Linked DNA regions of Homo sapiens: region 2 is linked to region 1. Evidence: promoter capture Hi-C in human tissues and cell types (Jung and others, 2019). All regions are on one chromosome and are shown on one strand. Each heading gives the region's core, a stretch centred on a gene start or on the middle of the fragment in contact. The rest is flanking DNA. Distances are from core to core; before and after follow the strand shown. Region 1 holds the start of CAP1 (cyclase associated actin cytoskeleton regulatory protein 1). Region 2 overlaps ZMPSTE24 (zinc metallopeptidase STE24).

Region 1 (4,139 bases), core at 330-2,829:
AAGCCATCCCTCATTTACTTGTCTATTTCCTCTCCCACTGTAAACTCCAGAAGAACTGTATTCTTTGCCACAAAGGCTATCTCATTAAAATGTGCCTCATACATATTAAGGTCTTAATAAACGTCTGGTGGGGCCGGGCACGGTGGATCATGCCCGTAATCCCAGCACTTTGGGAGGCCGAGGTGGGGGGATCACCTGAGGTTAGGAGTTCGAGAGCAGCCTGGCCTTCACGGCGAAACCCCATCTCTACTAAAAATACAAATAAATAAATTAAATAAAAGTCTGGTAAATGATAAATGTGCTGATATGCCCCCGGATTTTCTCTTGAAGAGAGAGCCCCACAAAGAGCTTCAACTGACACAGTTCTGATGCTAACCTGTCTCAAATGTTCTCATTCCACTCTTCGAACGCATTCCTATTTATCCTTCAAAATTCATCTTAAAAACTCTGCTTCTTCAGAAGGGCTTTTCCTGAACCCCCTGTTACATACTTTCAGAGCACCCTGTTCTTTCCTAACACTCATCAACATTTATAATTACTTCTTAAACATCCCTGCAAACACTGCTAGCTCCACGCGGGCAGGGTCTACATTGTTTTGTTTTAAAGCTGCATTCCCCGCATCTGGGAAAATGCTGGCACAGAATAAACACAATTTGTTACGCTGAATTTAATCTTGTGGGGTCAGCAGAGATCTCCACTTAAAAGATGAACAAAAGGAGGCTGAAAGAAGTTTAAGGCACCTATGGCCACAGACACTCAGCACTGAGGCCAGACCAAACCTGAGCCGTCTGATTTCAGGTCCAGAAGTACATACCTTCAATGTTAGCCTGGCTTGTCAAAGTAAGAGCAGCAGCCGAGGAGGAAAGGGAGGATATCTGCCTGTAAATACAAGGATGTGCCCGCCTTTCTTTTAAAAACTCCCTAGGCATTTCAAACGGCTCAATTTGGGAGGAGAGAAAAAAAAAAGTTCCACGCAGCGCTGGCCTTTAACCTGCAGCAGCCTGCGGGGCAACACCGACCGGAAGACCATCCCAAGTTAGAGAGGTTCCGAGCAACACGGGAAGAACTGGGGCTGGTTATCTAAGGCACCAGGATCATGATTCCGATTCTTTTCCTCACTCGCTATATATCTCAGACTAGCCTCTTCTCTAGGGATCAATTTACCTATCAGTGCAATGGGAGCATCAACAGGAGACAGGGAAGACTCTCCGATCTCGGAGGTTCCTTCCAGTCAGAGCACCTCAGGAATCAGGCCTCCGCTGAAGCTGATGGGCAGCGCTGCGAAATCGGGCAGAGGGGCCTCCCCGGGGCACCCGGACTCAGCTGCTCACCCCGGCCCCACCTCAAGAGACCGCGCCCAAGAGTCCGGGTCGGCCTGAGGGCCTCAGCCCCGGCCCTCTCGGCAGGGTTCATGACACGCGCGTAGGCCAGAAGGGCCATTAACACCACCAGGGGCCGATGGGCCCCGGAAGGGACCCCAATCCCTACCAAGCTGCACACCCTCACCTCAGAGTTCCGCCTCACCTCCGGACTGCGATCAGCCGCTCTCCGCTTCCGGCAAGAACCGCCCAGCAATCTCCGCGCGACCCACTTCCGGGCCCTCACTGGGCGCGGCGCCCCCACCGGAAATGAGCCGCCGGCTGAAGCGCTAGGCTGGCCCGCGACTGGGCAGGAAGTCTCACCGCCCCGCTCGTGACTCCGCCCCTCTTCGCCACGCCCCGGAGAGAGCGGCCCGGCTCTCACAGAGGGCACTTGGGAAAGAGCCCCGCCCTCAAGGCGGGAGCGACACGGGGAGGGCGGGCTCACAAGAGAGGCCACGCCCTCGTTCCGCTTTACCTACCCGGAATCGCCCCCGAGGCCCGGGCCCAGGAAGGGCAGAAGTCCCTGGCTAAGCTCCTCTCTGGAAAGAACAGAAGAGTGACCAGTTCCTCTGTCAGTTTGGTCTCAATGGCAGAGGCCGGTTCCTTTAAGCTGCAGTCCGTAAAGGGTCTTGGAACGACTGGGGGCCAGGATTCTCTGAGGGCGGGAATCCGGGCGGCCGTCAGCTCTCGGTGGTGATCGAGGCCACGCTCCGCCTGTCTCTGGGCGTGCATACCTCGGTTTCCCCGTTTGTGACGTGGGAAGGCAATTAGTCTGGACATTGTTGTGGGAGGACTTGCGGAGACTGGGCGCAGGGCGTGGGGGTCAGTGAGGGCGCGGTGGGTCAGCCCCAGCCCGGCTGGCAGTCGCGGGGCTGGGAAGGTAGGGAACCCTCCGCTCTCACCCCACTTCCTGTTTGGTCGGTGTGTTCTGTGACCATAGATGGTCAAGTCTGGGGCCGCGCGGAAGCCTCCGCCCTGTGGTTTTGGAGCCCTTCCTCCCGGCGCGCAGGGTGTGGTCCCCGAGAATAAGATGAGCAGAATTAAAGCAGATCCTGCACCCACTCTGCTGAAATCCGGCTTCTGAGGCAGCCTCGCCCAGGGCTGGGTGGGCTCAGGCGGCTGCTACTCGGTTCAGGGGAGGTTACGCACGGTGGCTGCCGCGCGCAGGGGAGGCTTCGCTTCCGTACTCCTTGGGCCGGGAGATCCGATCTTTGTTCCCTCAAGACTCACACTCTCCAACCGGTCATTATCCTCCCACAAAGATTTATTTCTAGAAAAAATTGGCAAGTGCCACAGTTCCCGCCCCTTCAGCTGAACGACTGTGACAGCTCCGTGTTTCAAGTTGAATGCAGGCGTTATGTGCCAGAGTCAATCATTCAACAAATAAAGTTCTTAAAATAACAGCTACCATTTACTGCACGCTGACTACTTGCCAGGCCCATGCTGAGTTCTTCAAGCGTATTTTCATTTACTCCTAATAGCAACTCTCGGTGGTAGGTACCATTATGCCCTCTAGTTTTCAAATGAGGAAGCTGAATAACTTGCCAAGGTCAGAAAGTAACTGTTGAAACTTTGAAGGAAACACATCTGTCTGACTCTAAATCCCATGAGCTTAATTAGCCCCTGTGATAGACCATACTGCAGACATTTGAGGCAGATTTGAGGTGGTGAATGCCTCTGGATCTGGAGACACTGGGTTCCAGTGCTGGCATAGGCCCTCTACTAGGGGTCAGACTTTGGTCAGGTTACTTTGGACGGGTTACTGGGCCTCTTCCTAACTTTATGGCTCCCAGCATGTTTAAAAGAACATGACAACATGAAAAAATATGGTATAAAAGTCATAGTATATTTTAAATATTGACATTTAACTAAAAACACTGTCTCACACACACACAAACTCTAACTTTATTTGGACATAATCTTTGACTCTGCATTTAGTTATTCTAAATCTCTTTCTGGATTAGAGACAGAAGGAACATAGACCATACACGCATTCTAGAGGAAGAGGAGAGAGAAGAGGAAGCAGGAAGGAGAATGAAGAAAGTTTCCTCATCAGGTGGGGAATATTAATGGGGCTGTAATGAGAAACGGAAGCAGTAATGTATGTGAAACCACTTTGTAAAATGCTTCATTATAAAGAATGCACACACGACTTAAGTTACAACCCCTGCCCTAAGGAATGTCCAGTCTTTTAAGAAGTCTAGATCCATGCATTTGTAACTCCAGTAGGAGATGGGAAGATAGTTTAAGAATATCCGTCACATGAAGGGCTGGGCGCGGTGGCTCACACCTGTAATCCCAGCATTTTGGGAGGCCGAGGCGGGCAGATAACGAGGTCAAGAGATCAAGACCAGCCTGGCCAATATGGTGAAACCCCGTCTCTACTAAAAAATACAAAAATTAGCTGGGCGTGGTGGCATGCGCCTGTAGTCCCAGCTATTTGGGAGGCTGAGGCAGGAGAATCGCTTGAACCCGGGAGGCAGAGGTTGCAGTAAGCTGAGATCGTGCTTCTCTACTCTAGCCTGGCGACAGAGTGAGACTCTGTCTCAAAAAAATAAATAAAAGAATATCTGTCACATGTATTTATGCACTGAAAAAAAACTATTGAGCTACATAGTAGCAATTATTGGAAGAGTTCAATAATTGCTATGCTACTTTGTACCAAGCACAACTAGGGATCCAGCAGTGGACAAGTCAGACCCTGTTACTGCTCTCATGGAGCTTACAGTCTATTTTGGAAATGATATTTCCATTTGGAGTGGTCATCAGAAGATACGC
Region 2 (4,334 bases), core at 106-2,605, 250 kb before region 1:
CAGTCCAGCCTGGGCAACATGGTGAAACCCCATCTCTACTAAAAATACAAAAAATTAGCCAGGCGTGGTGGCGCAAGCCTGTAATCCTAGCTACTTGGGAGGCTGAGGCAGGAGAATCGCTTGAACCCAGGAGGCGGAGGTTGCGGTGAGCTGAGATCGGGGCATTGCACTCCAGCCTGGACAACAAGAGAGAAACTTCTTCTCAAAAAAAACAAAAACAAAAAAAGCAAGTAGAAGGTTTCCACAGGGAGGGGAATATCACATGTAGGATCAGGGGTAACAGTGAGCATATAAAATATAAGGGCAAGCGGGGACCATCATTTGGTACTAAAACCACTGAACTGATCCTGGGAATTCTCCTATCCTAAACAGAGGCAGAATTTACAAGCAGTTCTCAGACCTCAGCAAAGGGCCAACTCAGATAAAGCCAGTATATACACACAACAGAGATTCAACCTTAGATTCAGAGCTTAACTCTGCTGGAGTTGTGCCATTTTACCCAAGGCTTTGACCTACTCAATTTTGCCCCTGCTGCACATCCACCAGGTCTTTCTTAGGGTGCAGAGTGCCATCTATTCCTTCGTTGGTGGGCCTATCTACTCTTCCCTTGATTGGTCAATTTCTTAGGAACCTACCAGTATCCTTTTGGCCATCCCTATGCCTCTGCCATCCATAAAGTGTGGGTGACTAAGTCAGTCACATATTTAAAAGCTAATTACTGCCACCATATGTAAGGAAAACCAAAGAGGCAGCTGGAGCAGACCAGGCAGGCCCAACAATTTGAGGTTATAAAAATAGAGAAGGAATGATTCCAAATGAAGCTTCCAAGGAAATATCTGCAAGAACTGGTGATACTCTGGAGCAAAGCAGGAGCAAGACACTGAAGAGACTCTGTGTAAAGCACAGTGGTGGCACTGACACCACTCATCATTAGGGCTATTTCTTCATTCCACTCTTCATTGCTAGCACCCAGTTCCTCTCAGGTAATAAACATATGTTCAGGTAACAAATGATACACAAATTAAAAAAATGATACACAAATATCAAACTAAAGACAAAGTACATACATTTGCGTTGGCAATGTTTAATGTTTCACTTTTGCAGAACTGAAATTTGTATTCAAAGGCACAGAAGGAAGGAAAGGCAGTTATCAGAGCATGAAGTCACAGATAAAGGATGCTGAATAAAAGCATAGGACTGCTCCTCTTTAGCCTTAGGAAAATAAATAATGCAGTATTAAACTAGATTTTTATTTTTATTATATTTCCATGTGAAGACATCACCCAAATGTCAGCGGAGCAAAAGACTTTATGGTCAGATACCAAAGGCGTACAGTTGATCCCACTTTGGAATAAATGCCCAGAAGGTAATAAGCATTATCAGTGAGTGAGAGCTCTAGGCACAAAATAAGTTCTCATTCAGAAAGTGGACAGAGATATGAAGCAGTGAAACATATAGCTTTAAAAACTGGAAATCATTCATGACATTTGTTTTCAAAGTAAACATTATCTGCATTTCAAGAACTGTAATTTTCAAAAGTAGAATCAGGCCTGATTAAGTAATATTTATGACTTACAGATAAAATTACAAAAATAAAAATGAAAACTCTTCTGCCCTTGAAAGAGATAGAAAACTATATTTTTTTCCCTGTAATGTCACAGAGATTCATCAGTATTTCATCCTTATGTCGCTTAAAAAATGTTATTTTTAATTCGTCTTTCCTGTTCTGCCACTTTTAACATAGCAAAACGTGTTTAATATGGCCATCTCTGCTGAGTGAAAGGATGTATTATTTACTGCATGAATGAGAAGAAGCTACAATTTACCTCCAATGGGATCATATCTACCACGTGGGAAAAAAAGATAAAGACACGGATTTTCCAAAAAACAAAAGAAACAAACAAACAAAAAAACCCCACAAAACTCAATGATTTAAAATATCCTATACATAATTTCTAACTTCAAAGCACTATGAGAAACTCTTGATCACTGTGTAGCAAGAAAGGGAAGAAAGAAATTAAAAATTTGGTAGAATAGGAGAGCATTTTTCTAACTACTTTCATTTAAATAACATTGGCCTTACCAACTATTACCTTTCTTATTTAAAACACTGATTCACCAGGTGAAATCATAACAGCATGAAAGTAAGACCAGATTTCAAGTTAGGTGTGAGCACAATGATTCAGGACCACTGTTTCCACCTCACAGAAAGGATTCCTGTGGTGATGCTCCCTCTTTCAAACATATGCCCTCAAACACCTCACATGCAGATTCCATATAAGTATACAAATAAAACGAGTTCTGTATTTTTCCAAATAATTTTACAACTTGATGGTAAATTAGATGTCAAAGATAAAACTATGCCTTTAAAAACATTAAGCTTCAAAATTCATTCAGTGTTTTAAGAAATGAATTATTAAAATCATTTTTAAAATGACATATTAAATGTATTTAAATCTGGGCTTTTCTGTACTTAATTTTTCTTCTAAAAAAAAGTTTAAAAACATCAAGAGCTGGAACATGCTGCCAGGACAGAAATAATCAGAAATGTCTTCAGTCACAGATCCTGGACATCTCAGTGTTGCTTCATAGTTTTCAAAGCTTGAAGTCTCTCTAGCAGTGGAGGATGAGAATAATGCCACATTGAGAACAACCAGTCAGAAACAGGGAATCCCAAGTTATCTTTGTTAAGTTTGATTAAAGCAGAATATAAGTCTTTAGCCTTCCCAAGTTTCTTGGCAAATGCATCAGCTTGAAACTCAAATCTGCGGCTTAGGACTGTTAGGCAAAAAGAAAGAACCTGAAAAAGAAAATGAAAGGGTTTTAGCCACTGCCCACCTCTTTGTTGTTACTAAAGGTTCCATGAGCTGAGACTGTAGAGAAGTTTGGCTTGGGATAAGAGGAATGGCAGGACAAAAGAAAGATCACTAATATTTAGGGGACCTAGGGTGAGGAAATTATAAATTGAGCCTTATTCTCCCCCAAGCAAACAGGCCAGAAACACATATAAAAGTTAAACATCCCTAACCAAAAACTTGAAATCTGAAATGTTCCAAAATCTGAAACTTTTGAGTGCTGACATGAGACTCAAAAGTCATGCTCAGGCCGGGTGTGGTGCCTCACACCTGTAATCCCAGCACTTTTGGGAAGCTGAGGCAGGTGGATCACCTGAGGTCAGGAGTTCGAGACCAACCTGGCCAACATGGTGAAACCCTGTCTCTAGTAAAAATACAAAAATTAGCTGGGCGTGGTGATGGGTGCCTGTAGTCCCAGCTATTCAGGAGGCTGAGGCAGGAGAATTGCTTGAACCCGGGAGGCGGAGGTTGCAGTGAGCCAAGATGACACCCCTGCACTCCAGCCTGGGAGACAGAGCGAGACTCCATCTTAAAAAAAAAAAAAAAAAAAGAGTTTTAAGATAATACATCTCAGTTCTCTGCCAAATTTATTTTTGTTTATGTGGACAATGCTATATGAATATGATCTATGCCCCTCCATTTTTCTTTCCTGGTGTCCCCACCATACATAATAGAAAAATATAATTCATTTAGCTCATCTTAACTCTACAATCTATCCCAAGAAAGAATTCTTCTGAATGGAGATACCTCAAGATCTTCAATATTATTTCTTAGCTTAATTTGGAAGCCTTACCAAACATCATGAAATGATGCCATTGTCAGGTTTGTTATATAGTCTCACATTAACCTATGTATTATCACTCACACGGAATACCCCTAATGAGCTAACACAGAGCAATGTTCTTAAGTTTCATTTACCACAAAATACCCGATTTTGATTTTGTGGGTTTGGGTGGATCCCTCAGGCTATATGGAGGCAGGTGGTCATGGAGCAGAGGAACAGTCACTAAGCCTCCCTTACTGAGCTGTACCAATTAGTGTTTGCTTTGTCCCCTCATACACATAAGATTTTTACCCAAGCACTGGTGAATATGTGGCCTAGGACACAACATTCCAATAGTTAATCTCCATCTACCGAGTCCTTTTAGGTGTTCACCACTGAAGTCTAGTTTTCTACTTATACTTTCCTAAGAGTATGCAAACGTTTATTTATTTGGGCTTGAATTTTTCTGCTACTTTGTCATACTGACCAGTGAATCAGGGGACTAAAAGACTTTGTTTCATCTATTTGTTAAAACTGTACTGTTCTATTTCCTTTTTCACTATCCTGAAAGCTCTAGATTTGAAGCAGGCAAGAGCATATGTGTGATAATTTTAAAGATCATACATTACCTCATTGTAAGGTGAAAAAATAAACTGGAAGATGATCAATAGTCCAATAAGAGTGGGTTGGCTATCATAAAAACCAAATGCAGCAAA

The links. Contacts are between HindIII fragments. The study calls those that stand out against the background at their distance.
Region 2: a contact is called between a fragment that was not itself captured here and the fragment with the promoter of CAP1 in region 1, in 2 of the 25 tissues and cell types used here (heart left ventricle and mesendoderm cells).

What each region holds. Positions count from the first base shown.
Region 1 is chr1:40,038,169-40,042,307 of GRCh38, reverse strand. It overlaps CAP1 (cyclase associated actin cytoskeleton regulatory protein 1), which reads right to left and starts at 1,579. Exons shown (of 13, transcript NM_006367.4): 1 at 1,507-1,579. It overlaps LOC105378669 (a long non-coding RNA gene), which reads left to right and starts at 1,862. Exons shown (of 3, transcript XR_001738013.3): 1 at 1,862-3,417. RefSeq lists enhancers at 1,280-1,369, 1,440-1,639, 1,293-1,927, 1,890-1,959, 1,928-2,561. The HindIII fragment of the contact is 19,514 bases long and covers 1-4,139 here.
Region 2 is chr1:40,290,911-40,295,244 of GRCh38, reverse strand. ZMPSTE24 (zinc metallopeptidase STE24) reads right to left here. Exons shown (of 10, transcript NM_005857.5): 9 at 4,248-4,334; 10 at 1,065-2,800. The coding sequence ends at 2,576. Among named protein-coding and RNA genes, the nearest start is that of COL9A2, 24 kb to the left of the region's middle. The HindIII fragment of the contact is 5,120 bases long and covers 1-3,915 here.